7 separate regions of the Homo sapiens genome follow, and regions 1, 2, 4, 5, 6 and 7 are each linked to region 3. The links are contacts of gene promoters, found by promoter capture Hi-C in blood cells and fetal thymus (Javierre and others, 2016). All regions are on one chromosome and are shown on one strand. Each heading gives the region's core, a stretch centred on a gene start or on the middle of the fragment in contact. The rest is flanking DNA. Distances are from core to core; before and after follow the strand shown. Region 1 has its middle 22 kb from the start of LINC00398. Region 2 has its middle 7.3 kb from the start of TRN-GTT2-4. Region 3 holds the start of UBL3 (ubiquitin like 3). Region 4 has its middle 43 kb from the start of USPL1. Region 5 overlaps USPL1 (ubiquitin specific peptidase like 1). Region 6 overlaps USPL1 (ubiquitin specific peptidase like 1). Region 7 holds the start of ALOX5AP (arachidonate 5-lipoxygenase activating protein).

Region 1 (4,081 bases), core at 1,109-3,608, 930 kb after region 3:
TCATGAGCAGAGGCTGGAAGAGTTCGAAGAAGCAGCTAGAAAAATACTATATTGCTATGAATTAAGCATTAAGGATGATTCTGGCGAGGGCTCAAAAAAATACAAAAAGATGAAGGAAAGTTTGGAAATTGTTAGAGATTTGTTAAGAGGTGGTAGCCAGAATGCTGATAGAAATATGGATAGTAAAGGTCATTCTTATGAACTCTTAGATGGAAATTAAGAACTTACTGGGAGCTGGAGTAAAAGGCATCCTTGTTATGCCATTGCAAAAAACTTGGCTACACTGTGTCCATGCCCTAGGACTCTGTGGAAAGCTGAACTTAAGAGTGATGGAATAGCATATCTGGTGGAAGAAATTTCTAAGCAGCAAAGTGCGTGGGCTGCTGAGTGCTTGCTTCTAACTGCTTACAGTGAATTACTAGAAAAAGGGAAACAGAGCAGAAAAAATTGGAAAATTCACAGCCTGGCCAAAATTCTGGTAGAGAATGAAAGAGCCCAAAGGTGAGGTGAGGCAGAGAAACCCCTTGCTAGAGAGATTAGCGTGGATAAACGGAAGCCAGGTGCTAAAAGAACAATGGGAAAAAGCAATGGGAAAAAGGTCCCCAACGCATTTCAAAGATCTTTAAGGTCGCCTCTTCCATCACAGACCCAGAGGTCTAAGTCTAAGATGACAGGTTGGTTTAGGGGAACAAGCCCAGGATGCTGTGTCTCTGTGCTGCCTGGGGACACTGGTCCCCACATTCTGGATGCTCCAGCCTTGGTTCATGTGGCCCCAGGTTTGACTCATGCCACTGCTCTGTAGAGAGCAAGCCCTGAGCCTTAGCAGCTTCCATGCGGCACTAATTCTACAGACATACAGAATGAAAGAGCAGTGGAGACGTGGCAGCTTCCTCCTAGATATTAGAGGATGTATCAGAAAGCCTGGGAGCCCAGACAGAAAATTGACACAGGGGCAGAGCCACTACAGGGAGTGCCTACCAAGGTTGGTGGAGCTATAAAGGCAGGGCTGCCCTCAAGACCCCAGAATTGTAGAGCTACTAGCAGCATGTAGTGCCTGCCTGGGAAAGCTACAGGTGTCTGATTTCAAGCCCTGGAGCACCCACATGGGCTCTGCCCAGCAAAACCATGGGGATGGGGCTGCTCAAGGTCTTGGGAGCCTACCCCTTTCACCAGTGTGCCTAGGAGGCAGCACCTGGAGCTTTAAGATTTAATGTTCGGTCTACTGGGCTTTGAACTTGTGTGGGACTTGTCATTCTTTTAGTTTGTCTGATTTTTTCCCCTTTGGAATGGGAATGTTTATCTTGGAAGTAAAAAACTTGTTTTTGATTTTACAGGCTCAGAGTTGGAAGGAGCTTGCCTTGAGTCTCAGATGAGACTTTGGACTTTAGACATTCTAGTTGATGCCGGAACAAGTTAAGACTTTTGGAGACTATTGGGAAGGGATAATTGTATTTTACAATGAGGAGGGCATAAGTTTTGTGGGGCCAGAGGTGGAATAATATGGTTTGGATATGGTTTGTTTATCCCCACCAGATCTCATATTGAAATTTGATCTCCACTGTGGCTGTGTTGGGAGTTGGGGTCTGGTGGGAGGTGTTTGGGTCATGGGAGGTGGATCCCTCATGAATGGCTTAGTACTGTTCTCAAGGTAGTGATTGAATTCCCACTCTTGGATTAGTTCTCTTGGGAATAGATTGTTTCCCTTTGAGGGTGGGTTGTTACAAAGTGAGGACACCTCTAAGTTTTGCCCCTTTCCTTTGACCTTCCACTGTTTCATGAGGAGCAGATGTTAGCACCATGCTCCTTGAACTTCCCAGCCTGTAGAACCATGAGCTATATAAATCTCTCTTTTTTTTTTTTTTCATTTTAAGTTCTTTTTTTTTTAATTATACTTTAAGTTTTAGGGTACATGTGCACAATGTGCAGGTTAATTACATATGTATACATGTGCCATGCTGGTGTGCTGCACCCATTAACTCATCATTTAGCGTTAGGTATATCTCCTAATGCTATCCCTCCCCCTTCCCCCCATCCCACAACAGTCCCCAGAGTGTGATGTTCCCCTTCCTGTGTCCATGTGTTCTCATTGTTCATTTCCCACCTATGAGTGAGAACATGCAGTGTTTGGTTTTTTGTCCCTGTGATAGTTTACTGAGAATGATGATTTCCAATTTCATCCATGTCCCTACAAAGGACATGAACTCATCATTTTTTATGGCTGCATAGTATTCCATAGTGTATATGTGCCACATTTTCTTAATCCAGTCTATCATTGTTGGACATTTGGATTGGTTCCAAGTCTTTGCTATTGTGAATAGTGCCGCAGTAAACATACGTGTACATGTGTCTTTATAGCAGCATGATTTATAGTCCTTTGGGTATATACCCAGTAATGGGATGGCTGGGTCAAATGGTATTTCTAGTTCTAGATCCCTGAGGAATCGCCACACTGTCTTCCACAATGGTTGAACTAGTTTACAGTCCCACCAACAGTGTAAAAGTGTTCCTGTTTCTCCACATCCTCTCCAGCACCTGTTCTTTCCTGACTTTTTAATTATTGTCATTCTAACTGGTGTGAGATGGTATCTCATTGTGGTTTTGATTTGCATTTCTCTGATGGCCAGTGATGGTGAGCATTTTTTCCTGTGTTTTTTGGCTGCATAAGTGTCTTCTTTTGAGAAGTGTCTGTTCATGTCCTTCGCCCACTTTTTGATGGGGTTGTTTGTTTTTTTCTTGTAAATTTGTTTGAGTTCATTGTAGATTCCGGATATTAGCCCTTTGTCAGATGAGTAGGTTGAGAAAATTTTCTCCCATTTTGTAGGTTGCCTTTTCACTCTGATGGTAGTTTCTTTTGCTGTGCAGAAGCTCCTTAGTTTAATTAGATCCCATTTGTCAATTTTGGCTTTTGTTGCCCCTGCTTTTGGTGTTTTAGACATGAAGTCCTTGCCCATGCCTATGTCCTGAATGGTAATGCCTAGGTTTTCTTCTAGGGTTTTTATTGTTTTAGGTCTAATAAATCTCTTTTTTAAGAAATAAATTTATAAATAGAATACCCAGCTTCAGGTATTCTGTTATAGCAACACAAAATAGACTAAGACACTCTCCAACCTCCTAATTATGGAGAGCTCAGGCTTGCTGCACAAGTCTCTTGCACATCTCCAGATACCTGAGTGATCTTCCTCACATTTAATAATTTCTAAAATTTGTCTTCTCCAAAGGAGATCCCTTTCTTAACCTCCAGACTAAAATATCACATTGCCCTCATCCCTACTTAATGTGTCCAAAACAAAACCTCTGATTCTCCATCCACACAATCACTTTCTCCCTTAGTGGGCCCATCTCAGTAAGTGGTAACTCTGTTCTAATTGCTCAGGATGAAACCCTGGCATCAACATTGACTCCTCTTCTCTCATACTGCACATTCCATTCTTAGCAAATCCTGTCAGTTTTACCTTCGAAAAATTATTTTTAAGATCTGACCATTCTCACCACCCCCACTGCCCAATGCCATTCTAAACTTCCACCATCACTGCAGCATAAAGCTCCATGAGGGCAGAGGGCTTTGTCTGTTTTGCTCATTGCTATGTTCTCAGCTCTCAGCACATAGTAGGTGCTCAGTTGCTATTTAATAAGTAACCTCTCACCTAGATTATTGCAGTAATCCCCTAGCTCGGGGTTTCTTGGCCTCAGCACATTTGACATTTGGGGCCAGATAATTCTTCATTGTGGTGGGCTGTCCTGTGCATTCTAAGATGTTCAGCAGCATCCCTGGGCTCTGCTCACTACATGCCAATAGCATCCTCCACTCCTGAGGTGCAACAACCAAAATGTCCCCAGACATTGACAAATGTCCACTAAGGGGCAGAAACACCACCATGGCTGATCTTCTACTTTCCATGCTCCTGCTCACACTGTCTCTGTGCTGGTGTAGAGCAAGGCTCTACACATGTAAGTCAATCTGTGGCTTGTCATTGACTCAGAGTAAAATCCTTACAGTGCCTGTAAGACCTCTCTCTTCTCTCACCTTATCCCTCCCCACTGCTCCTCTGTCTCAGGCCCACTCCCTGCTCATCCTCTGCAC
Region 2 (3,524 bases), core at 691-3,190, 830 kb after region 3:
GGAACTGTATAATCTGACAATTCGTAGTTGCATACATCTTTCTGTGTGCTGGTGCTGTTAGAACACTTTGTACGCATCACCTCATTTAAGTTCAGCATCCCTAGGTGGCAGATACTATTATTATATTCCAGTTTTGTTTCACGTTGTATATGCGGTGTGAGCCCCAATATGGGATGTGTGTGTGCACATGTGCAGTATTTGGAAAGTTCTATGAAATATTATTAGTGGTTATCTCTGGGAGGTGATTTTTATTCCTTTTCCAGTATGTTCTCAAGCATTTGCTGCAAGCAGTCTTTTGCGGGGCCAGGGTTGAGAGGCAGCAGCAGTTTCCCTAAATTACAGATAGAGGGAGGTAGGTGGTTATGCTTGGCCAGATCTCTGTCTAGGGGTAGAGGAGTGCCTGTGTGTGGGTAGGGACACCGGCGGGGGGCTTTGCCAAACACAGTGGAACTGTCACGCTGGTCTCTCTTCTCAACTCTTTCACTCACCTGAGAAAAGGGTGTCTATGGACCATGCACACTTCTGTGGGGAATTTTACAAGATGTGAATCATCAGTGATGAAGATGCTTTCATTTAAAAAGAATTGGAGTACCTGAGATTAGAGATAACTTCTACCCTTTTAAAATATTTTTAAAAATTTCTTTGCACTGATTTTTTTTCTTCGTTTTTATGAGTTGTTTTCATTTGGGTGGGATAACTCAATCTACAGGAGAATATTAAGACTTTTTAAATTTTAAAAAATATACTTTCAAATACTTAATACATTTTGTGTTAAATGACAGCCAGCAGATATTGACTGAATTGGGCTAGATGCTTCAGGGATCTCCCTTCCATTTAAGACTCTCCGAGAGGCCATTCCTGACTGCAGGTCACTGTATTATTTTTAATTTTAAAATTTTTACTTACTTATTTTATTTAATTTTATTTTTTGAGACAGAGTCTCACTCTGTCGCCCAGGTTGGAGTGCAGTGGCACAATCTCAGCTCACTGCAACCTCCACCTCCCGGGCTCAAGCGATTCTCCTGCCTCAGCCTCCTGACTAGCTGGGGTTACAGGTGCAGGCCACCACACCCCGTTAATTTTTGTATATTTAGTGGAGTCAGGGATTCGCCATGTTGGCCAGGCTAGTCTCAAACTCCTGACCTCAAGCGATCCTTCCACCTCAGCCTCCCAAAATGCTGGGATTACAGGCCTGAGCCACCCCACTCGGCCTACTTTATTAATCCACTTGCAGAAACAGGATATACACAAAAACGTTTCAAGGCTGTAAGTGCCACTGCATGGCACCAATGGTAAACGTTTTACAAATTTGAGTCAGGAACAATCATTAGTGTCACTAGCAACAAAAATCAAAATTAAATGAAATAAAAAATTTCTTTCCCCAAATGGCAAAGGAGAAAGAAAGGTAATACTAACACGCAGTCAGGGTGTAGTGAGAGGGCCGCTCTCACACAGGACTGGTAAGTACAGAGCCATGGAGTAAGCAGGTCTTGAGCTGACACTGGAGAGGATCCTTTTTTTTTTTTATTTTTATTTTTTTAGAGTCAGGGTCTTGCTTTTTTACCCAGGCTGGAGTACAGTGGTGCCATCATAGCTCACTGCAGCTTCAAACTCCTGGGCTCAAGAGATCCTCCTGCCTCAGCATCCCCAGTAGCAGGGACCACAAGTGAGAGGATCCTTTAGTGTTGTCAAGGAGAAGGAACAGAGGTGTGGATGGGTGGGCACAGACACAGGAGCACAGCTGAAGCAGAGGATTACAAAGGGTGGAGCCTGATGTAAAGAAACCTAATAGGTGACAGAGCATGGAGGCTCTTGAATACCAGGCTGGAAACTGCATTAGGAACGGTGCTCATAATTGCAGAAAATTTTACATGGCCTAGATAGTCATCAAAGGATGATGTACAAACAACTATGGCATATTTATACAATGTGCCGACAGGATGCACTGAACATTTTGAACAACAAAGAGACTTGATAATGGCGAGGTTTTGAGGAGGTGAATCAGGATGCAAAAAAAGCAAACAACTAATAAAGTTGATTGATGACAAACACTATCAAAAGGCAGCCAGGAGAAAAGCTACTGGTTACCTCCAGGGAGCTGGTGAGGGAGGCTGGGTGGGAGGATCTACCCTTCTGAATTCTGAGGGCACCTCCAGTGTGGCCCTCAGAAAGCAGGAGCTTCCAGGCTAGAATCAGATCCCGACATCCCTGTTAATTCCACGGATTCCACACCGAGTCAGATTTATGATTTACTATAGGGTTTTAAAAACCAAATTGCAGGGATGCTAGCCTATCACAGCTTATCTCAGACATTGTCCACTAAGGTATACAGAGTGCTGCCTGTTCCTTTGGTACCCTAATCAGGAAACCCCATCAGATCTGCTCCTTCCTATGGGGTAGTGAGTAACACGAAGGCTTACCATCTCACACAGATAACTGGTCATAGGTCCAGCAGAAGTTTAAAACAGAAAATGAGGAAAGCCATGTGATTAACTGCTGCCAGACTGTTTGTGTTACAAACAGCAGTTCCTTAGGCATTGCCTGGGACATGCAATAATTTCTGTTACACAATCTGTGGTAGTTAAAATGCTGCACGATGAAAGCTATCTGATTTGGATTCATTATTAGGTGAGCCATCTCGTCTGCAATTTGGTTCCACCATTTTCATTTAACAAATGTAAAAAAGTTTATTAAGCTCTTACAAAGTTATGCTGGGCAAATATGCAAAAGTCCAGATCACCTACCGCAGGAACTAATCTAGCCTCCTCTCTGGGCACCCTGTTGTTTGGGGCTGGGCAGTTCTTTCCTGTGTAGAACCATCTAGGGCTGAATAGGTCATTCTGACACCTGGGCACCTCTGCCTGCTCGTAAATGGGACAATCAGAAAGGGCCCTTATGTTTCCAAACTTTCTTTAAAGTAGCTGTTCTGAAAACATGGTCCAGGGACCCCTGATTGTCCCTGAGACCTTTGAGGGGATCTTCAAGGTTAAAATTAATGTCATAATAATACTAATATGTTATCTGTCTTTTTTCACTCTCACTTTCTCACACGTGAACAGTGGCATTTTCCAGGTGACAGAGTGTGTGATAATGAACCTAACTGAATGCAGAAGCAAACATGAGAACCTAGTTTTTTCAATCAAACCAGACGTGAAAGAGATTTGCAAAAATGAAAAAACAATGCTATCCTCCTCACAATATTTTTGTTTTAGAAAATAAAGTTATTTTTCCTAGAAATGTTTTTGAGTTTATCAGTCATAGGTTTATTATTATAATTAAAAAATGAAATATACATACACAGACATATTTTTTAAAGTTCTCAGTTTTAATCTCTTTTTTTTTTTTTTTTTTTTTGAGACGGAGTCTCGCTCTGTCGCCCAGGTTGGAGTGCAGTGGTGCGATCTCAGCTCACTGCAAGCTCCGCCTCCCTGGTTCGCGCCATTCTCCTGCCTCAGCCTCCCGAGTAGCTGGGACTACAGGCACCCGCCACCGCGCCCGGCTAATTTTTTGTATTTTTAGTAGAG
Region 3 (3,863 bases), core at 393-2,892:
ATTTCTGTTGCCATCCGTATTCAGACATTTCAAAAACCTCACAGCAAATTCTAACATACTTTTTCTTGAAGAGATGTGCATCCCTGTTCTTGAAAAATATCAAGTTCGTCCCTACTGCAATGACGATCTCGTCTGTGTCATAAAGCAAGATTCCCGTTTCCCTACCTATTCTCTCGTAGGGACACCCGTCCTCAGCTCTGCCCACTGTCCCTGACGTTTTCAGAAACGTTAAAATACTAGTGTTCGGAGGCTTCTAGCGAAGAGGGAGATGTTTTGTCCCCTCAAGCTACCATGATACATTTCCCTACTTCTCCACTATCTTCAATGCTTTAGAAAACACGACCAAATGAGAGAACCCATATTAAAAGCAGTACTTCCTAAAAGGGGGAAACCAGAAGCTCCAACTTCTCCAAATCGCTCAGCACAGTGGCTTTTCGACAGTCCCCAGCAAATCTTCGCCCCACGCCTGCCGTCTTTCCGATTAAATAAGATTGGAAACCACAATTAAATCAGTGTCATAACTTATCCGTCACTTACCATATCCGCCGGGACATTACTGGACATCTTGCCGTTTGATATACACCCAGATGTTTACGAAAAAAACAAACAAAGAAAAAAGAGCAGAAGTCTTCACGTTACAGAAATAAACCACGATTTTGACTGGTTCGTGATGTGCTTTCTCCCCCAAAAATAAAGTTATTTTGGAGCCAAAGTGCCGGTCAGGCCGAGGTTCTGGTTCGAAGAGGAACAATCCCCAGGAGCTGTGTGGCCGGAGCAGGAGGAAACTCCCGGGACAGCAGAGGCAGCCCCCGTCGTCGTCGTCGTCGTCAACAGCAGCAGCAGCCCCAGGACCGGCCGCGCCAGGTGGACCGAGCCGAGTGACACACGGACATGGAGAGGGGTGGGAGGGGGTTAAATGCGCCTTCCTCCTTTCCCAGCCCCGGCAATGATTCACACTTGCTCCCGAGTCAAGTCCTCATTAAGCAGGAGAAAAATGCCCCAGCGTGGATGTACACAGATAACTATGTAGCTACACATCGACGCGTGAGCCTTGAGTGGCGGCCGAGCGGTGGCCGGACGCTGGCCGCGGACCCTGCAGAGCCGCTGTCGGAGCGCCCGCGCGGACAGCGCGGGGAAACGGCTCAACTCGCGCCGCGGGGGCGAAGAGCCGGGCCGCGGAAACCCGCGCTCAAGGGCATTTAACTAGTTGGAAGCCAAAGCGAAAGACCGGAGCGGGGGACCGACAGCGCGGGGGTGCTCGGGGCCGGCCGGGACACTCCACAGCCCCTCTGGGCTCAGGCCGCGGGCGCCTCCGGACAGCAGCTGGGGTCGGGGCGCATCGTCTCCGGCTCCTCGCCACTCCTCTTCTGCCTCCGCCTTCCCCGCCGCCGCCTCCCCGGTCTCCGCCTTCCCTTCCCCTCCCCTCCCCGGCCTCGCGAGCTCCGGGCGACGCCGACTTCGGCTGGTCCCCGGAAGAGGCCGGGTCCTCCTTCTCCTCAGCCCGGGAATGGTTTCCTCTCAGAGCTTTGTTTCTCCTCCTCCTCCTTCACTTTTCAGTCCCACACGCCGCGGCCGCCTCCTGTCATCGCCTCTCAAACCAACATGGCGGCAGCGGCGGCGGCGGCGGCTGCCTGAGTGCGACTAAGGGAAACGGGGAGAGCACGGGCCCCCCCTCGCAGCAGCCGCCGCCCCCGTCCTCGTCCTCCCTCCGCGGACACCAAGTGCGTCACCACGGAGACCATTCCCTCGAGCATCACGGGAAGTGTAGTCTACGAGGGTGGGGGGGGGAGGGAGCCGCCGAACGCCTCCTCACCCAGCTCCGAAGCCACGCCCCCCATAGCAACAGTTGCGAGGAAAGGAAAGCTCCCTTTCCCTTGCTTTGGACAAGCTGCTGCCCAGGAGTTAAGTGATACCTGCTACCAGGAGTGCTGTGATCATGAGAATTGTTGGGAGAAAATAATTCTGCATAGAGAAATTCCCTTATGCACGATATGCACACAGAGCTAAAATATGCTGTACCTCCAAGCAGAATCATTCATTTTAATTACAGCACATTCTCCACATCCTGCAATCTCAATGCATTTTGTAGAGTGATTTCATCTAGGTCTCCTCAACATTACATTTTGAAGAACAAAAGCAATCATTGATTTCCAATAAGGTCACATAAGTTCAACAGGAACAAGGATCTCATTAAGCAGTGAGAATATTTGAACATGTGTTTCCTTGAAGACCCAGGGCAATAAAGCTACAATCTACTTAACTGAAATTACCAAAACTGTATTACATACAACAGTGTTATTATATCAAATCTGTATCAGGAAATAGCTACTACAAACTTCATGGGGATTCACCAGTTTACCCATCTGGACCCTAAATTCTATTCTATGTAACTCATAATGTAATTGAAAACCTATATGCCTTGCAGTGATTAGCAAATAGGAGAAAATAATGCCATTGTTGAGACACCATTCAGATGGACATTTGTGATTTCTGCATTTTGTTCCTAAATCTGAGGTCAACATCTGAATCCCTATTCATATCTCTTAGTCCTTTGACAGAGTACTTTAGAAAGGGCAGTCTCAATATGATGCCTATATATAAATGCCAATGAATTTAGAGTCTGAAAGCCACCTCTCCAACCTACAGCTGTGTGACCTCATCTGTAAAATGGTCTTGCCTACCTTCCGGGGTAAAGTAGGGGTAGTTATGAGGATGAGTTCATGCATGGGAAATAAATCACTTTGTAAATAATAATGCATCATTTGATATGAAATGTCACTACTCATTCTCTCATTCAGCAAACAAATGTGCCAGGCACTCTGCTAGGCACTAGGAGTTTAAAAATGAGTCACTGTAGCGAACAGCAGCATCATGTGGCAGAAATGCCAAGGTCTTGGGTTGGCAATGGGGGTTATTACATCCTTGTCTATAGGGCTGTTGAAAAGAGGCAGAATCCAGTCACTGTCCTCAGGGAGCTCATTGTCTAGAAGCCTACGTGATTCCCCACAGCAATCTCTCCAGTTGGGTTTCTCATCAGTTGGAAACCCACAGGACATTTAGAGTACCTGCCTCTTGAGTAGCCTGGGTGGAGAAATTCCAAACACTCCTAAGGGCCTATATCACCCTGAGGAAGATAGATCAAATTCTCCGAAAAACCAAAGGCCAGAAGAGAAGAGAGGCCCAAATCTCACTGTGATTAGGCTTCAGGACTTTGTCTAGATATTTCCAAGTCCATAGTTACGTGATTTTCCATGGCCTTTGTTACTTGGTTGCTCATTTGCAATGTTTAGCAACCACAGAGTCCCCCTACCCCTACACCAGCCCCCCAGGAAATAAGGGCAGGTGAAAATACTTCAATTGACCAATGAGCTCAGAAGGAATATTGGAGCACATTTTGAAAGCTCTAACTCACAGAGTTAGTCCCTCCACCATACCCTTGACTCCAACTTTTATCCAATGACCTCCCTGGCCATGGCACTGCCTGGCCATGGCACTGCCGGGCCTAAGTGCCACTGTAAGTAGAAAGGCAAGAGTTGCTGTTTGCTGCAGGTTACCACTGCCACCTTTACAAAAGGCAATGTCTTTCAAAAGTCGCTGTGTTTCCAATTACTCTTCTAAGAGGGGCTGAGACATTATTCTCAATAAAACTCATTATAACTCATCCCTAACATTGTTAAGGCATGAGGTAACATTATTGGACACAGTTGCAGATTTTTCCACTCTTTCTTTTCTCTTTGCTTCCCAGCTCAGGCGGGTGAGGTGGGAGGCTGTAGAAAGGAGTTCAGCTGTCCCAAGCAGGAAAAGGTAGCATCTTCTTGACACCAGGAATCTATTGTCAGCATCAGTTGGAAGAAAGTGAATGA
Region 4 (3,875 bases), core at 765-3,264, 720 kb after region 3:
ATTTGACTGCAAATTCTTCTGGGGGGTCTGAATTGCAAAGGAGGCATCTTTGTAAGTCAGACTCAACTCATTACTCTGTGATGCAGGCTCCTCCAAATGGCAGCAGAAACGTATTACTCTCTAGAAACACTACAGTAGTGCTACAATTTCAGGGTTCTGTAGAGATAAGGACAAATTGACAGAAACACATTCTTAGAAGGACAGTATCATTTAAAATAAAAATACTGTCATAATTGTACACCAGGATAGCTTCTCCATAATAAATTCTTTATGATTTTCTGATTTTTAGAAATCAGAATTGAACTTTTTAATGTGAAAAAAATGAGAGAATTGTTTCAAAATAGGACCACATTTCTGTGTATAATTTTAAAAGTTTAAAAATATTTGATTAGTAGACTGATAAACTGAAACATTTTTGATAAGCTTTTCATTACATACAAACCATATAATTTGTAAAAAATTGGAAATTATTCAAAACTTCACATAACTAAAGTGACCAAATAAATACTGGAGAGGAAAGAAAAGGAGTCAAATGAATCTAGCATTTTCTTTTTTTTTTTTTTTTTGGAGAAAGGGTCTCACTGTGCCACCCAGGTGGGAGTGCAATGGCACGATCATGGCTCACTGCAGCCTCAACTTTATGGGCTTAGGTGATCCTCCCACCTCGGCCTCCCAAGTAGCAGGGACTACAGGCATGCGCCAACACGTCCAGCTAATTTTTTTGGTATTTTTTGCAGAGACGAGGTTTCACCAGGTTGCCGTGGCTGATCTGGAACTCCTGGTCTCAAGTGATCTACCCAACTCAGCCTCCCAAAGTGCTGGGATTACAGGCGTGAGCCACCGCACCCGGCCTAATCTAGCATTTTCTAAAAGGAAGGACCCAGCAGTGAACGGCAATATCAATAATCATGTTCAAGACTATCAGACATGCAAGCTGGGGATGAATGGGTGGAAGGGGAAAATGATGAATAAATGATGAACACAAGTATAGACCCAGTGGATTTGAGATGCCCAAGATGCCAGTGAGATATTCAAAGTTTAACTCAAAAGCCACTTCCCATATGAAATCCTGACAAACACTCCTACGTCCAACTGGAATTAATTTCTCTTCTGGGCTCCCACAGCACTCTGTATTTTTCTAATAGCATAACACTATTTTGTTTGTAGATATTTCTCTGATAGCATTACTATCTTTCCTCTTTATCACAACTGTTTGAAGTTCTTTTGCCTCTTGCATCCACTGTTGCCCAATCCCACTGCTGGAAGGCTCATCTTATTAAGTTCTGTATTCCTAGTGCTAACACACTGTCTACCATAGATGATGTTCAATAAATGGTTGCTAAATGAATTCTCTTGTGATAATAGCACTATGGCAACATAATCGACGGTAAAAATTTCTTCTCAATGTTTACTTTTAGCAGAATGCATTCATTTATCAACTTTCATTGAGAATATGCTAATTTCCATGACCCTGCTAGGAAATAGGAAAATAAAGATGAATGTAATAAGGTGCTCATTCTACTGAAAGTCTTGACTAGTGGAGAATTATGGATCCAACTTTTCATGAAATGCCTTCAGTGGTAAGAATTCTCATATTTGGAATAAAAAATGTTATGGGTTGTGCCAAGATACCTACATACTTCATAATTTTGTAGAGGGCTGTCCTTACTGCAGAAATGTATACTACTATAGTCATATGTGGAAATTCTTTTTATGATGCTAACTGCATGCTAACCAGACTTTTTAATTTAATACTTGCATTAAATAAACCATGCTAGGAATCCAGGAATCTAGCTTGGTTTATTTTCCATACAATGTACTCTTTGTAATATGCATATACTACATAAAAATTCTATTAATGGCCTCGTACTAAAGATGTGTCTGTTGGGGAATCAGTTATTCTGTATAATTTTATCTTAATTGATATATTAAAATCTACCAAAAATATAAACTCCGAGTAAAAGTATCTGCATGGTGTGCATATGTTTATTATTTTAAGTGTCAGCGTATACATTTTCATGCCATAAAGTTATAAAATGAAAAAATAGTAGCCTTTTATATTAAGTTCATGCTTATGTAGTTAGTAAAAACAAGAAAGCAATTAACATACAAACCATGATGGTGGTTAAACTTGCTTCAGTTTGTGTTTTTTAAAATTTGAAAGTGAGAAATACAGCTCGAAGTCAGCTCATATTTTCAGTAAGTACTGATGAGGATGTACTGGCCCTATTGACTACGCTGACCCCATTAAAATATTTGTGAGTCTAAAGGTTCATATGACGCTGTTCCTTCACTCTAGCAACAGGCCATACATGTCTTACATAGGGACTCTGTTCAATTCATTAATACCTCCTGAAGTGCTCAACATCGTGGTTCATTTATAGTAGATACTCAATACATACTCCATTAACTGAATTCTAAGATAAACTGTCTGTTACTGACAGAAATTTTCACTTAAGGGAGTCTCCGTGGCTGAAGGCAATTTTGAAATCCTGTAAAAGAACCCACTCCTCTCCCCAAGTAATGAAGTTTGTCAGTTTCAAGCCTGTAATAAGGTACTGACTTAAAATTAATTTTCTAATAATACAGTACTGCTATGTATCTAATGTGGGGTTAGTCAATGATAGGAAAAAAACATAAGACAGAGTCACATTTAAAAATGTGTGCTTAGGTGCATGGTGACACCTGCCTGTAGTCCAGCTATTCCAGGGGCTGAGGCAGGAAGATCCCTTGAGCTCACGAGTTTGAGGCTGCAGTAAGCCACTGCACTCAGCCTGGGCAACAGAGTGAGACCCTGTCTCTAAAAAAAATTCGTTTTAAGTGTGCTCAGGACATAACAGGAGCCGCTGGTAACATGCCATTTCCACTGTGAATATGGTAAGGACAGAATCCCTGTCTCTAGGCCCTCTTCCACTAGTCAATCTCATCATCACCATCAAGGCCAACATTGGTATTCTCTCCTCTGAGACAAAGTCTTTGACATTTTCTATACTATACTATGTCTTCCTCTCCCCAAATGCATATACAAATAAAATTTGAATGCTTCTTTCTCCATTTAGTGTAATTTTTTTTATAACATAGACCCAATTTTCAAACCCCACAATGGTGGATTTTATTTGATGTATTGTAAAAAGCGCTGGATTGAAGTCAAATGGCTTGGGAGACCTAAATTCTACTCCTGCCTGTACCATGAAAGAGACAAATCCCAAGGCTTTGCAGGGCTTCAGCTTCCTTGTTTGTAGAATAAAGAATTATAAAATCATCTCTTTTGGTCCTACTGGGCAATAAAAAGCTATGATTCTAAGCCTGTTCCCTTTTCTCACCTAAGAATACAAATTTGATACAAAGAGGCCGCAGAATGTGTCAAACACTCCCTGTTGCCTGGAATTCTCTCTTCCTTTGGGTTCAGGGATAAAGGTATGTTATTTCTTAAGTCTCCCTTTGCTTTCTTCTGCTTGCCTCGTAAATATTTTTCCATCTTGGCAGTCCTACATGTCTTCTCACTCTACATGTTTTCCCTAGGTGATGTGACCCAGCCTGTGGCTTCCACTGCCATCCACACACGTCGCTGCCTCTCTCCACATCAGCATCGCAACTATCTCCTGGAAGCTTTCCAAGTGCTGAACTACAGTAACCTCAACCGAACTGCTGTTCATTCACCCCACAGGCTTGCCCCTCCTCTGCATCTTTGTGAGAACCTGAGAGTCATCCTAAACTCCTCCTTCCACCTCACTCCCCACATCAAATCGATTACCAACTTGTGCTGATTTTATCTTCAAATACTCTCCAGAATTGTCGCTGTCATGGACTGAATATTTGTGTTCCCCCAAATTCATATGTCCTAATCCCTGATGTGACTGTATTTAGAGACGTGA
Region 5 (3,904 bases), core at 7-2,506, 810 kb after region 3:
ACATTGTGTGCAACCACCATCACCATCAGGACTTTTTCATCAACCCAAACAGAAACTACTCATTAAACAATAACTCCGCATCCTTCCACCCCAAAGCCCTGGTAACCACTATTCTACTTTCTGTCTCTGTGAATCTGTCTATTCTAGATACCTCATAGAAGTGGAATCGTACATTATTTGTCCTTTTGTGTCTGGCTTATTTTACTCAGCATATTTTCAAGATTCATTTGTGTTGTGGGATGTAGCAGAATGTCATTCCTTTCTAAGGCTGAGTAGCATTGTATGTATTATCCATTTATCTGTTACGGACATTTGACTATTGTGAATAATGCTGTTGTGAACATTGGTGGACAAGGAACTGAAAGTCCCTGCTTTTCATTCTTTTTGGCATAAACCTACAAGAGGAATTGCTGGGTCTTAACGGTAATTCTGTGTTTAATTTTTGGACGAACTGCCAGACTGTTTCCACAGCAGTTGTACTATTTTACATCCCCACCAGCGTTACACAAGGATTCCAATTTCTCTACATCCTTGCCAACATTTGCTATTTTCTATTTTTTTTTAATAATATCCATCCTAATGGGTGTCTTTTTTTTTTTTTAAAGGAATGGTTTAAACAGGTTACCTTCTTACTCCTCATTCATGCTTTAGTTGACTACATAAGGACCCCTCTCCCTATTGGCACCATTGAAATTGTTCAGGCAAAAATAACTGCCAGCGACACACTGCTTTAAGTAATGGACTTTTCCCAAGTTTTGTATTAATATTTCAGTATTTGGTAGTGCATCCTACTGCTAGTTTTTAAACTCTTCCCTTGTCATCTATCATCTCATTCTCTCTTGACAAATGTGAAAATGGAAGCTCAGAAATAAAACAAGAATTAAAACGAATAGTGATCCTTCAGGTAACAAGCTTCATTTATCATGAAAACATATATGTATGAAACATTCTGTTTTCTGATGTTATTGGATAAATTAGGTGATAACCAAATTCTAAGTTCCAAAAATTAAATATACTCTATCTAAGGACTTTAACATGGCAGACAATGGTGACAAGGTCAAGAACATGTTTTAGAGTCTTCTCCTTTGGTCGGTATTCAATGATACAACAGTTGAAAAGGCCAGAAGAAAGTTAACCTAGGATGGTGGTTTTTGAATATCTAACTTTCACTTCTTTCCCATCTTCCAGGAAGTTGGCTGGAATGTGATGACTTAAAAGGCCCATGTTCTGAAAGGCACAAGAAATTTGAAGTTCCTGCTTCAGAGATACATATTGTTATTTGGGAAAGAAAAATATCCCAAGTGACAGATAAAGAAGCTGCCTGCCTTCCACTTAAAAAGACTAATGACCAACACGCTCTCAGTAATGAGAAACCAGTATCTTTAACATCGTGTTCTGTGGGTGATGCTGCCTCAGCTGAAACAGCCTCAGTAACTCACCCTAAAGATATATCAGTTGCCCCTCGTACTCTTTCACAGGACACAGCTGTAACTCATGGAGATCATTTACTTTCAGGTCCAAAAGGTTTGGTTGACAATATTTTACCTCTGACACTTGAAGAAACTATCCAGAAAACAGCCTCAGTTTCACAGTTAAATTCTGAAGCTTTCCTGTTAGAAAATAAACCTGTAGCAGAAAATACAGGAATTCTCAAAACCAATACTTTGCTATCACAAGAATCACTAATGGCTTCTTCAGTATCAGCTCCATGTAATGAAAAGCTTATTCAAGACCAATTTGTGGACATAAGTTTTCCATCCCAAGTTGTAAATACAAACATGCAGTCAGTACAGCTGAATACAGAAGATACTGTAAATACTAAATCTGTGAATAATACTGATGCTACTGGTCTTATACAGGGAGTGAAGTCAGTAGAAATTGAGAAGGACGCTCAGTTAAAACAATTCCTTACACCAAAAACTGAACAATTAAAACCAGAACGTGTCACATCTCAGGTATCTAATTTGAAGAAAAAAGAAACTACAGCAGATTCTCAAACCACAACATCTAAGTCATTACAGAATCAGTCTCTGAAAGAAAATCAGAAGAAGCCATTTGTGGGAAGTTGGGTTAAAGGCTTAATAAGCAGGGGTGCTTCTTTTATGCCACTCTGTGTTTCAGCTCATAATAGAAACACTATAACTGATTTACAACCTTCAGTTAAAGGGGTAAATAATTTTGGTGGCTTTAAAACTAAAGGTATAAACCAGAAGGCCAGCCACGTATCCAAGAAAGCTCGTAAGAGTGCAAGTAAGCCTCCTCCCATCAGTAAGCCACCAGCAGGCCCTCCATCGTCTAATGGCACAGCTGCCCACCCACATGCTCATGCTGCTTCAGAAGTTTTGGAAAAGTCTGGAAGCACCTCATGTGGAGCTCAACTCAACCACAGTTCTTATGGGAATGGTATTTCTTCAGCAAACCATGAAGACTTGGTGGAAGGTCAGATTCATAAACTTCGTCTAAAACTTCGTAAAAAGCTAAAGGCAGAAAAGAAGAAATTAGCTGCTCTTATGTCTTCCCCGCAAAGCAGAACAGTTCGAAGTGAAAATCTAGAACAGGTGCCCCAGGATGGGTCTCCAAATGATTGTGAATCAATAGAGGACTTGTTAAATGAGCTACCATATCCAATTGATATTGCCAGTGAGTCTGCATGCACCACTGTTCCTGGTGTTTCCCTGTACAGTAGTCAAACTCATGAAGAAATTTTAGCGGAATTATTGTCTCCTACACCTGTTTCAACAGAGCTGTCAGAAAATGGGGAAGGTGACTTTAGGTATTTGGGAATGGGAGATAGTCATATCCCACCACCAGTACCAAGTGAATTCAATGATGTTTCCCAGAACACACATCTGAGACAGGACCATAATTATTGTAGCCCCACCAAGAAAAATCCATGTGAAGTTCAGCCAGACTCTCTGACAAATAATGCCTGCGTTAGAACATTAAACTTGGAGAGTCCGATGAAGACTGATATTTTCGATGAGTTTTTTTCCTCCTCAGCATTAAATGCTTTAGCAAATGACACATTAGACCTACCTCATTTCGATGAATATCTGTTTGAGAATTATTGAATTAATGCTTGTTAACTTTTTTCATATAATATTTATTATTATTAGAAGAACTTACAATGTGTTCAGGTAGTGTTTATACACTGGACTTGTGTAATTACTTGTGTAATAACCATGAACAAAATGCAAGGTTTAACCTTTGGTTCTGCCCATGAAGCATGTAATCTTTCTTACACATTAAAATCACTGAATGTGTTCTCCTTTTTGGTTTCATTTTGTTCTTGTGAGAGTATGAGGATTTCAAAATGTTAAAGATGAAAAGTGGCGTCTAGTTTCTGACAGTTTGTACAGTTGGATGCATTACATTTTTAGATTTGAAGTTTTGGTTATGTTAGTGTTATGAGTGATCTTTGTGGTGGTTTTCTTCCCCTGGAAACCTGTTGCTCGTGGCGCTTTGCCCACGGTGCCCGAGTTCTTGTCCTGTGTCCAGATATGCAGACAAATGAAGGGTGAAGAAGAAGAAGAGGAGCTTTATTTAGTGTTAGAACAGCTCAGAAGGAGACCCACAGTGAGCAGCTCCCCTGTGTCGGCGGGCAGGTCGTCCCTCAAGTGTTCAGCTCTCAGCAGAGAAAAGGCCCTGGAGAGGGTGACTCCTCTCAGCTCTCAGCAGAGAAGCAGCCCTGGAGAAGGTAGCTTCTGTTCGCAGGCAGATTGTCCAGAGGTCCTGCTGCTCTCAGACGGGGCCCTGGAGAGGATAGCTTCTATCCATAGGCAGGTTGTTCTGCCGTCTCTACAGGTCTCTGAAGCTCTTAGCAGAGAGGGTAGCTCCTCCCTGTTGCTGGTCGTCCCACCCTCTGCTCAGTTCTGGCTGAGCCTGGGGCATTTTACGGGCCTCG
Region 6 (4,093 bases), core at 898-3,397, 790 kb after region 3:
GGTCTGTGATCTTGATTTGCCGTTTCCACATTTTGAAGAGGTTGTCGGCTCTATGTGTATATATTGCTCATATTTGTTCCCTCTTCTGTGAAATGCCTTTTGTATCTTATCCCTATTTGTTCTGTTCTGTTGATTGTCACGTTTTAATTGATTTGTATGAGTTTGTTCCTTGTATCATTGTTGCTAGAGTTACATCAGATGTGTTGCTGAATCTGCTCCCAGTTTGCAGCTTGTGTTTTTACTTTTTAAAAACTGTCTTGATTTATAGGGAAGTCTTTATCTTTTCATTTGGAGCTAGTAATGTTTGTGGCTTTTTAAAGAAATTATTACTATTCCCAAGGTCAGAAAATCATTCACCTATATTTTAACTGAAAAGTTATAAAGTTTTGCTTTTGACATTGAAATTTCTCATTCAGTTGGAATTCATATTGATGTGTGGTATGAGGTAAGGATCCATTTTTTTCCCATTTGCATAGCCAGTTTTTGTAGCTCCACTTTATTTTCTCACTTGATCTGCCATGCCACCTCTAGCATGTATCAACATATCATGTATGTGTGCAGCTGTTCCTTAACTCTCAATTTTATTCTCTTGGTTACTTTGTCTAACCCAGCACTCATACTTTTTAAATTATTATGGCTACCTTGTAGGGCAAGAATCCTCACTTTTATTCAACTTCTTTTGAAGTGTCTTGATGCATATTTTTTCTGATCTTACTTGGCCATATATATTTTGGGGACAGATGTGACATCATACCAAGCTTTCTTTGCTTGACATTGTAGATATTTTCTTATTCATTAATGTGCTAAAAATTTTGAGTTTGGTCATACAGTCTTTTATATGGATCTTATACATCGTTTCCCTCTTGTTAACCATTCAGGCTGTTACTAGTTTTTGCTGTTGTGAATTAACACCAGGACAAATATCCATATATCTTTTGAATTAATTACTGACTAGTTTCCTAGGAAAGATATTAGAATATGAATATTAAAGGTCTTGCTGAATACAGTTTTCAGAATGGTTGTACCAATATATAATTCCATTTTCATTATGTAGAAAAAATACCTCAGTGTTTTCTAACCACCTTTGGTTAGAACATTCAAGACGTTATGGTTTTGTTAGGTAAGAAATATTTTGTTTCAGTGTAGGTTTTCTTTGAGACTGAACTTTTTTGTGTGTGTCAGTCATTTACAGTTTTTTGCAATTTTTAAAATTCAGTTTCTCACAAGCATTTTGCCTTTGACTTTTCTTCTATTTCTGCTTTCTCTAATTACAGAAACCCCAGTGTTAAGTAGGTGACAGTTCAGTTGTTTGCTGCAGAAGAGCAGCAGTTCAATATTGGAATTAACTTTAATTTTATGTTTTTAATCTGTTACTAATTTTTTACAGAATAATTGTAGTTTTTATAATCTGGTTAATTATATGTTTGAGCTGCATTACTTTGCAATGTAAGTTTTTTTTTTTGGCATGGTCAAATAACAAAAATTCTGGTTAATGCTTATTTCATATTACAGGAGAATCCAGATATTTCATTAGGGAAACATATAAGCAGAGTGTGATCAGGCTGTATGAATTATTTATAAGAGATGTGAGTGAAAAGATCTATTTGTAGCTTAAGAGTAAGTAGAGTCAGATGCATGTAGAGTCTTTTATTCAAAATAATTTTCTTATTAATCTTGGATAGTTTCTTGTCACAGTAATTCCATTTTGAAGATAATAAATATTACCATAAAGAAGTGATCAAAAACATAGATATGTGTGCCCAAAGGTATTTATCACAATAGTATTTATAATAGTGAAAAAAGAAACAACTAAAATGTCTGGCAATAGGAGAATGATTAATAAAGCGATGTTTCAGCTGAATATAGTGGCATGCGCCTGTAAGCCCAGCTACTCAGGAGGTTGAGGCTGCAAGATGGCTTGAGCCCAGGAGTTAATGACCAGCCCAGGCAACATAGCAAGACCCTGTCTCCAAACACACAAACACACACACAAGTGCTATGTTTCAGTCACTGTATAATAACTAGCCAGATTTTTTGTTGTTGTTGTTTTGTTTTTGTTTTTGTTTTTTGAGAGAGCATCTCACTTGCCCAGGCTGGAGTGCAGTAGTACAATCACAGCTCACTGCAGCTTGTAGAACCCTAACCCTCCTGGGCTCAAATGATCCTCCCACCTCAGCCTCCTGAGTAGCTGGGACTACGGGTGGGTACCACCATACCCAGCTTTTTTTCTAAGAGATAGGGGTTTCACTATGTTGCCCAGGCTGGTCAGTTTTTAATGAAGCACATTTGTGTAGACAAAGCAGGATGTGGAACCGGATAAACACTATGTTGCCACTGAAGACCCCTTCAAACCCCTCAAAAATGACATAGAAGGGAAATATGAGATATTAGTTTGGGAAATAATTGTAACTTTATTAAGACTCCTTATAAATTTATCTGTTCCTATGACCTGGCTAAGTTCAATAAAAGTTACACAGAGTGGAATAAATGGTTAGACATCATTTGTAGTATAAGTAATTGCACATAAGGAGGTAACTTTAGCTGTTTTAGAGATAGACATAGTATCTGAAAGGTTAGTTATTTTACTAGACCTGTGATTATTTGGGTGAGAAAGGCTTTCACTGAGATTTTACCCATTCAGTAAGTACTAATGATATTGTGCTGATAGCATATATTAAGGGAATATATGGTATACCACAGAGAAAGAATTAAGGAAATTTTGTGTTTTGCTTTTTGTCTGTTTGCAAAACTTACTGACTCAGCTTTCATTCTTGGGAATGTGTCAGTTTTCTGTGGGAAGATATACATTGATGAGGAATTGATAATGTTCTCTGTATTTTCTTAGATGGAGATTGTAAAAAACTTACCTCAGAAATATTTGCAGAGATAGAGACCTGTCTGAATGAAGTTAGAGATGAAATTTTTATTAGCCTTCAGCCCCAGCTTAGATGCACATTAGGTAAGTAATTGGTAAAACTTACTTGTATTATACTCATCTACCATATAGAAATATGTACCTCATAAGGAAATATAATACTGTTTGATTACCTTGGATGATCATATTCTTGGGAGAGAGAATCTGAGTAGTTTGACTTAGGAATCTACCACTGGGTAAGTTATTGTAGGGCAGAGCTGTTCCATATAAATATGTAGGCTGGTGTTCCACCTCTTGAGAGTGGGTGCAGTTCTCAGAACCAGGAGAATTTTAGGGGGCATATCATTAGTTGCTTCTCTAGTACGTTTCCTAGTAGACAGATCTAGCATTTTTAACCTCAATTGTGCATTAAAAAGCACCGAGGGAATTTAAAAGTAAATGCCAATGCTGGGGCATTTGAATTAGGATCTCAGGGATGGGGCTCAGGAAATCAGTAATTTTTAGAAACCCCACATGATTGTTATATGTACCCAGGGTTTAGAATCTCATCTAAACCAACCATAGTAATTCTACTTCCCTACCAGTGATTGGTTTAGGAATGTCCTTGTGGTAGAGTTTTGGCCAGTGGATATTAAGAGAAATATGCTGATGGCCTTTTGGGAAAGCTTCCTCGCCTTTAGAAAGGGCACAAGGATGGGACCTCTTTGTTCTCTGTGACTTGGTTTTTGGCCTGTGGGAGTGGCGTGCAGCAAGTGAGCTAGAGAGTCTGTCCAAACCTTTCTAAATTTTTTTAGTATTGCGAAAAGGAGCTGCGGGGTTTTTTTGTTTGTTTTTGTTTTGAAAGGGCTTTTTGTTTTATTTTTCTTGTATCCTTGTATTAACTCTTCTATTAATGTTATAGTAGCAGAATATGATACTCCCTATTAGTAATAACCCATATTATGTAAAATATCAGTGCCTTCTAGTTTTTCTCTCAATGAGTGACATTTAACTTATATTAAAAAATGATATTTATATTTTATAATAAAATCAGTTGTTGCTACTGATTTGTCTAGCATGTACAAAAGACACCATGCTTCCAGATCATTATAAAATATGATATTTTATAATATATTTACAATATATTTATAACATATTTATATACTTAGAATATATTTTATAAGGCTGGGCTTGGTGGCTCATGCTTGTAATCCCAGCACTTTGGGAGGCCAAGGCAGG
Region 7 (4,004 bases), core at 758-3,257, 880 kb after region 3:
CTAACCAATCTTGTAATAACTCTGTGGTAGTTAATTTTATGTCAAATTGATTGAGCTAAAAAATGCCCAGGTAGCTGGTAAAATGTTTTTTTCTGGGTGTGTTAGGGAGGGTGTTTCTGAAAGAGATCAGCACTGGAATCAGCGGACTAAGTAAAGAATTCCCACCCTCACCAATATGGTGGGTGTCATCAATCCACTGAGGGCCTGAATAGAACAAAAAGCGGGCAGAAGGGCAAATTCCCTCTTCTTCTTGAGCTGGGCCATCCATCTTCTCCTGCCCTTGGACACTGGAGCCCCTTGTTCTCCAGCTTTTGGATTCAGACTGGGTCTTGCACCATTGCCCTCCATCTTCTCCTGCCCTTGGACACTGGAGCCCCTTGTTCTCCAGCTTTTGGATTCAGACTGGGTCTTGCACCATTGCCCTCCTTGATGCTCAGGCCTTTGAATGCAGACTGGTCTCCACCAGCAGCTTTTCTGAGTCTCCAGCTTGCAGATGGCAAACCATGAAACTTCATGGTGTCCATGAGCATGTGAACCAATTTCTATTATAAATCTGCAATATATATATATGAGGAGACTTATTTATATATTGGTTCAGTTTCTCTGGAGAGCCTTGGCTAATATAAAGTCTATACTCTACAAAGTGCCCTAGGTACTCAGGGAGTACCCAAGTGTGTCATGACCAGCCCGACAGCCCTGGCTGCTGGCTTCCCCGCACACAACTCTGCACGCTGCCTTCATCAGCCTTTCTCTCTCAGCTGAACCGAGGGCATTGAAGCGGGCCTCTGGCACTGTACCTATGAGGGAGCAATATCTTCCCCTACACTGACCTCTTCCGTGCCGAGATGCAGCCCTCCCTGCTGCCACTAGTTACAGTGGTCCATGTTCCCTTTCAAAGTGAAGTTTTGATAAAAGCACCTCTTAACCAATGCCAAATAGCTAAGTCTGGGACAAAGATTGCAGGTATTTTGCATTTTCCATGTAACCTCAGAGGGATTGCCATTCACACTGATCTGAGCTGCAGAATACCAGGCAGCCACCTCACCCACCCAGCAGGTCCACTCTTATACTTTCTCAGAAAGCACAGCCACTCTACTCTTATTCAGTTGAAAAGAATTTCCAGGAAGGTGTTTCTGCGATTGCCTCAGAAAAGTCAGTTCCCTTTGGGAATTTCCCTTAGGGATCATCTGTAACTCCATTTCTGCCTTTTACCTGAATTCTTTGGTTTGGTTTGAATTCTTTGGTTTAATTTATGAATTCCCTTTATTACTTTTCTCTGAAGAAATGGAGATATCAGCTGTCCCTCCCCACTGCCATTTATTCCTTCCTTCATTCAAACCTTATGTGGCTGCTACTTACCGTGTGTTAAGTGTTCACTTTTTTTCTTGGAATTCAAAAAAAGAAGGACAGTATTTGGGGCACAGATCTTTTGGTGTTCTATACATTTTTTTAAAGTTTCATTTTACATTTGTGTGTGCGTGTGTGTGTGTGTGTGAGACAGTCTTGCTCTGTTGCCCAGGCTGGAGTGCAGTGGCATAATCATTGGCTCACTGTAGCCTCAAAGTCCTGGGCCCAAGCAATCTTCCCACCTCAGCCACCCAAAATGCTGGGGTTACAGGTTTATGCCACTCTGTCTGACCTGAAAGTTTTGGGTTTACTTTCCCTTCTTTCTCTTTGCTGAAGTCAGAGATGATGGCAGCTTCCAGATTCTCTGGTGCCTGTGCTGGGCTCGTGCTGGTCATGGTCTTGGGTCCAGGATTCATTCTGGAGACTCTCAGGGAAGTTTCCCATGACAAGGAAATGTAGGAGAGTGTGCTGGCTTTGCGTGCTCCTCTGCCAAGCCCTGCTTCTCCTGGTGGGACACACTGAACCACAGCCAGGGCATTTTGGTGGTTAGTTAAAAAAAAAAAAAAAAAAAAAAAAAGGAAGAAGAAGGCACTGTGTAATTGTGCCGGGGATCTTCAGAAATTGTAATGATGAAAGAGTGCAAGCTCTCACTTCCCCTTCCTGTACAGGGCAGGTTGTGCAGCTGGAGGCAGAGCAGTCCTCTCTGGGGAGCCTGAAGCAAACATGGATCAAGAAACTGTAGGCAATGTTGTCCTGTTGGCCATCGTCACCCTCATCAGCGTGGTCCAGAATGGTAAGGAAAGCCCTTCACTCAGGGAAGAACAGAAGGGGAGATTTTCTTTGATGGTTGTTTGGAAGTCAGGCTTAAACAATTGTGTCTGTGTGTGCGCATGCACAAACACTTTTACCTTATCTTTATTTTCTTCTTTTTATTTGAATGTATAGGGTTGTGTGTATTTCTGTGTAAATTTGGGGTTTTCCTCCTCTTAGTCTTTCACTTTTGTGGTGATTACCAGTCCCATTTTTAGAGCCAGGGCTGCAACTTGAAGGTTTTGCTAAAACCCTCACCGAAGTGTCTATGATCAGCATTTTAACTATTAATTAATGTGGCCAGGCAAGGGGTGGAAGGTGAGAAGACTAGAAAGGGAACATGATATACACATTTACTCAGATACTGGGCTTTTCTAACATCTGCAGTGCAATTGAAGTTACCAGTCATCTGCAGTCTAAAAAGAAAGTGATTTTGGGAGGTGCGTAGAAAAAATCATCTTATTATTTTTCCTCTATATTACTTTTTTCTTTTTTTCTCCTGAAGAAACTTTTTTTTTTGGTGATACCTTCTTTTTCTCTAGCACGTATAATTTTGGAAGCATTTTTCATATGCAGTGTATACTTCAGAAAGAGAGAGAGAGAGAGGAAAATTGTCCTGTTCAGCGTTTGCATTTCCATTATTCCTGCTATTAGTTAAAAACAACAACAACAACAAAAAACAAGCAGGATACCTAGATCTGGAAAAGGGAGAATTGTGTAGAGCTGTCTTCCTAAAGTTCTGAGTTAGGGCTGCCTCAGACCACTTTCATAACTATCTCCAGTGGCTTTGTGTTTTATATTTATTAAGATAGAGAAAAAAAGAGTAATTACTAAGGGCAGCTGCTGTAGCTTTATGGTGATTACTGAACATTGACATGCTGTCACGTTTTTGGAACTTTGAGTATTTAATCACTTTGGGATATTCTATTTTCCCCCATCTTGAGTGTGGACAGATGCTGGTGATGTAGCCTTCTGGGCACAGAGCAAGCCTCCCCCTCAGCCTCTGCACCAGAAAGGCTCAGCTTCACACACTCCAAGTATGTTTTCTACAAGAACTACACTTTGTGGCTTTCTGACCCAAACATTTTTATACTAAATTACACACAACAAAGTTGTAGCTCAGAGAGGGAACAAATGGCTTATTTAGGCCACCATTTTCTTGAGCCATTATGATTTCACACAGGGCTCCCTTGGCCCTGTAAATTGGCAAGGATTCCATTATTCAACCCGCATACATGTACAGAGACCCTGCTCTGGCCCAGATAGTATTCTGGGTACAGGCGGATAGAGCAGGAAACAAAACAGCTACAGTGATGGACAGGTCAGCCTGCAGCAATGCCTGCAGTCTCTGCAAAGGTAGCTGTATGGGTGGGCAGGTGGCTAGCACTTATTCAGCTCTGGAAGGATCTCCCCTCTGGCCTCTCCCCTGACACCCATCAATAAAACTGAGGAGCATCGGTGGACAGGGGACCTTGTGCCCCCTCCCTGCCTGTGCAGTTGGGGCTGAACCCAGCTACGAAGTTTGAGCTCACTCTCTCCAGCTCCCTCTCAATTCAGAGCTGAACTGTGGGAAGCTTCAGAGCTCTCTGTTTCAAGGACAGGTTCTCCTCACCTCTCCTAATGGAGGTGCACCAGGGAACTGGCCCTGCTCTGCCCAGGGCTTTCTCCTGGACTTTGCCATCATGGTCTAGCAAACCCTGTTCAGATTGAGGTGAGTGGTGAGATTTCGAATTCTTTTTGACAGATAGGATTAAGTCTTCTTCTGTGGGACAAGTGGGAGGTAGAGGTAAGATTAAAGATGGCCAAATGTCTGAGTCCTGACAGCCACAATATGGAGATCTAGACTT

The links. The method cuts DNA at HindIII sites, captures the fragments that hold promoters and counts their contacts. A CHiCAGO score of 5 or more calls a contact.
Region 1: a fragment that was not itself captured here is called in contact with the fragment with the promoter of UBL3 in region 3 in 1 of 17 cell types (neutrophils); the score reaches 5.0 in neutrophils.
Region 2: a contact is called between a fragment that was not itself captured here and the fragment with the promoter of UBL3 in region 3, in 1 of 17 cell types (total B cells). The highest score is 5.1, in total B cells.
Region 4: a fragment that was not itself captured here is called in contact with the fragment with the promoter of UBL3 in region 3 in 3 of 17 cell types (naive CD4 T cells, fetal thymus and naive CD8 T cells); the score reaches 6.7 in naive CD4 T cells.
Region 5: a contact is called between a fragment that was not itself captured here and the fragment with the promoter of UBL3 in region 3, in 3 of 17 cell types (naive B cells, naive CD8 T cells and total B cells). The highest score is 5.4, in naive B cells.
Region 6: a fragment that was not itself captured here is called in contact with the fragment with the promoter of UBL3 in region 3 in 1 of 17 cell types (naive CD4 T cells); the score reaches 5.0 in naive CD4 T cells.
Region 7: the fragment with the promoter of ALOX5AP here is called in contact with the fragment with the promoter of UBL3 in region 3 in 3 of 17 cell types (total CD8 T cells, naive B cells and fetal thymus); the score reaches 8.1 in total CD8 T cells.

The regions. Positions count from the first base shown.
Region 1 is chr13:30,779,416-30,783,496 of GRCh38, forward strand. No RefSeq gene overlaps it. Among named protein-coding and RNA genes, the nearest start is that of LINC00398, 22 kb to the right of the region's middle. The HindIII fragment of the contact is 5,080 bases long and covers 1-4,081 here.
Region 2 is chr13:30,679,603-30,683,126 of GRCh38, forward strand. No RefSeq gene overlaps it. Among named protein-coding and RNA genes, the nearest start is that of TRN-GTT2-4, 7.3 kb to the left of the region's middle. The HindIII fragment of the contact is 9,070 bases long and covers 1-3,524 here.
Region 3 is chr13:29,848,975-29,852,837 of GRCh38, forward strand. UBL3 (ubiquitin like 3) reads right to left here and starts at 1,643. Exons shown (of 5, transcript NM_007106.4): 1 at 538-1,643. The coding sequence starts at 564. RefSeq lists enhancers at 209-278, 749-818, 1,489-1,558 and silencers at 1,119-1,418, 1,689-1,798. The HindIII fragment of the contact is 5,102 bases long and covers 1-3,863 here.
Region 4 is chr13:30,573,102-30,576,976 of GRCh38, forward strand. It overlaps a transcript of HMGB1 not described here. Among named protein-coding and RNA genes, the nearest start is that of USPL1, 43 kb to the right of the region's middle. The HindIII fragment of the contact is 3,186 bases long and covers 422-3,607 here.
Region 5 is chr13:30,656,286-30,660,189 of GRCh38, forward strand. It overlaps USPL1 (ubiquitin specific peptidase like 1), which reads left to right. Exons shown (of 9, transcript NM_005800.5): 9 at 1,189-3,904. The coding sequence ends at 3,071. Among named protein-coding and RNA genes, the nearest start is that of TRN-GTT2-4, 16 kb to the right of the region's middle. RefSeq lists enhancers at 3,017-3,776, 3,517-3,636. The HindIII fragment of the contact is 693 bases long and covers 911-1,603 here.
Region 6 is chr13:30,634,899-30,638,991 of GRCh38, forward strand. It overlaps USPL1 (ubiquitin specific peptidase like 1), which reads left to right. Exons shown (of 9, transcript NM_005800.5): 5 at 2,846-2,959. Among named protein-coding and RNA genes, the nearest start is that of USPL1, 19 kb to the left of the region's middle. The HindIII fragment of the contact is 2,782 bases long and covers 757-3,538 here.
Region 7 is chr13:30,733,536-30,737,539 of GRCh38, forward strand. It overlaps ALOX5AP (arachidonate 5-lipoxygenase activating protein), which reads left to right and starts at 2,008. Exons shown (of 5, transcript NM_001629.4): 1 at 2,008-2,140. The coding sequence starts at 2,071. The region is part of intron 2 of LOC124903146 (a long non-coding RNA gene); the gene reads right to left. The HindIII fragment of the contact is 8,013 bases long and covers 1-3,729 here.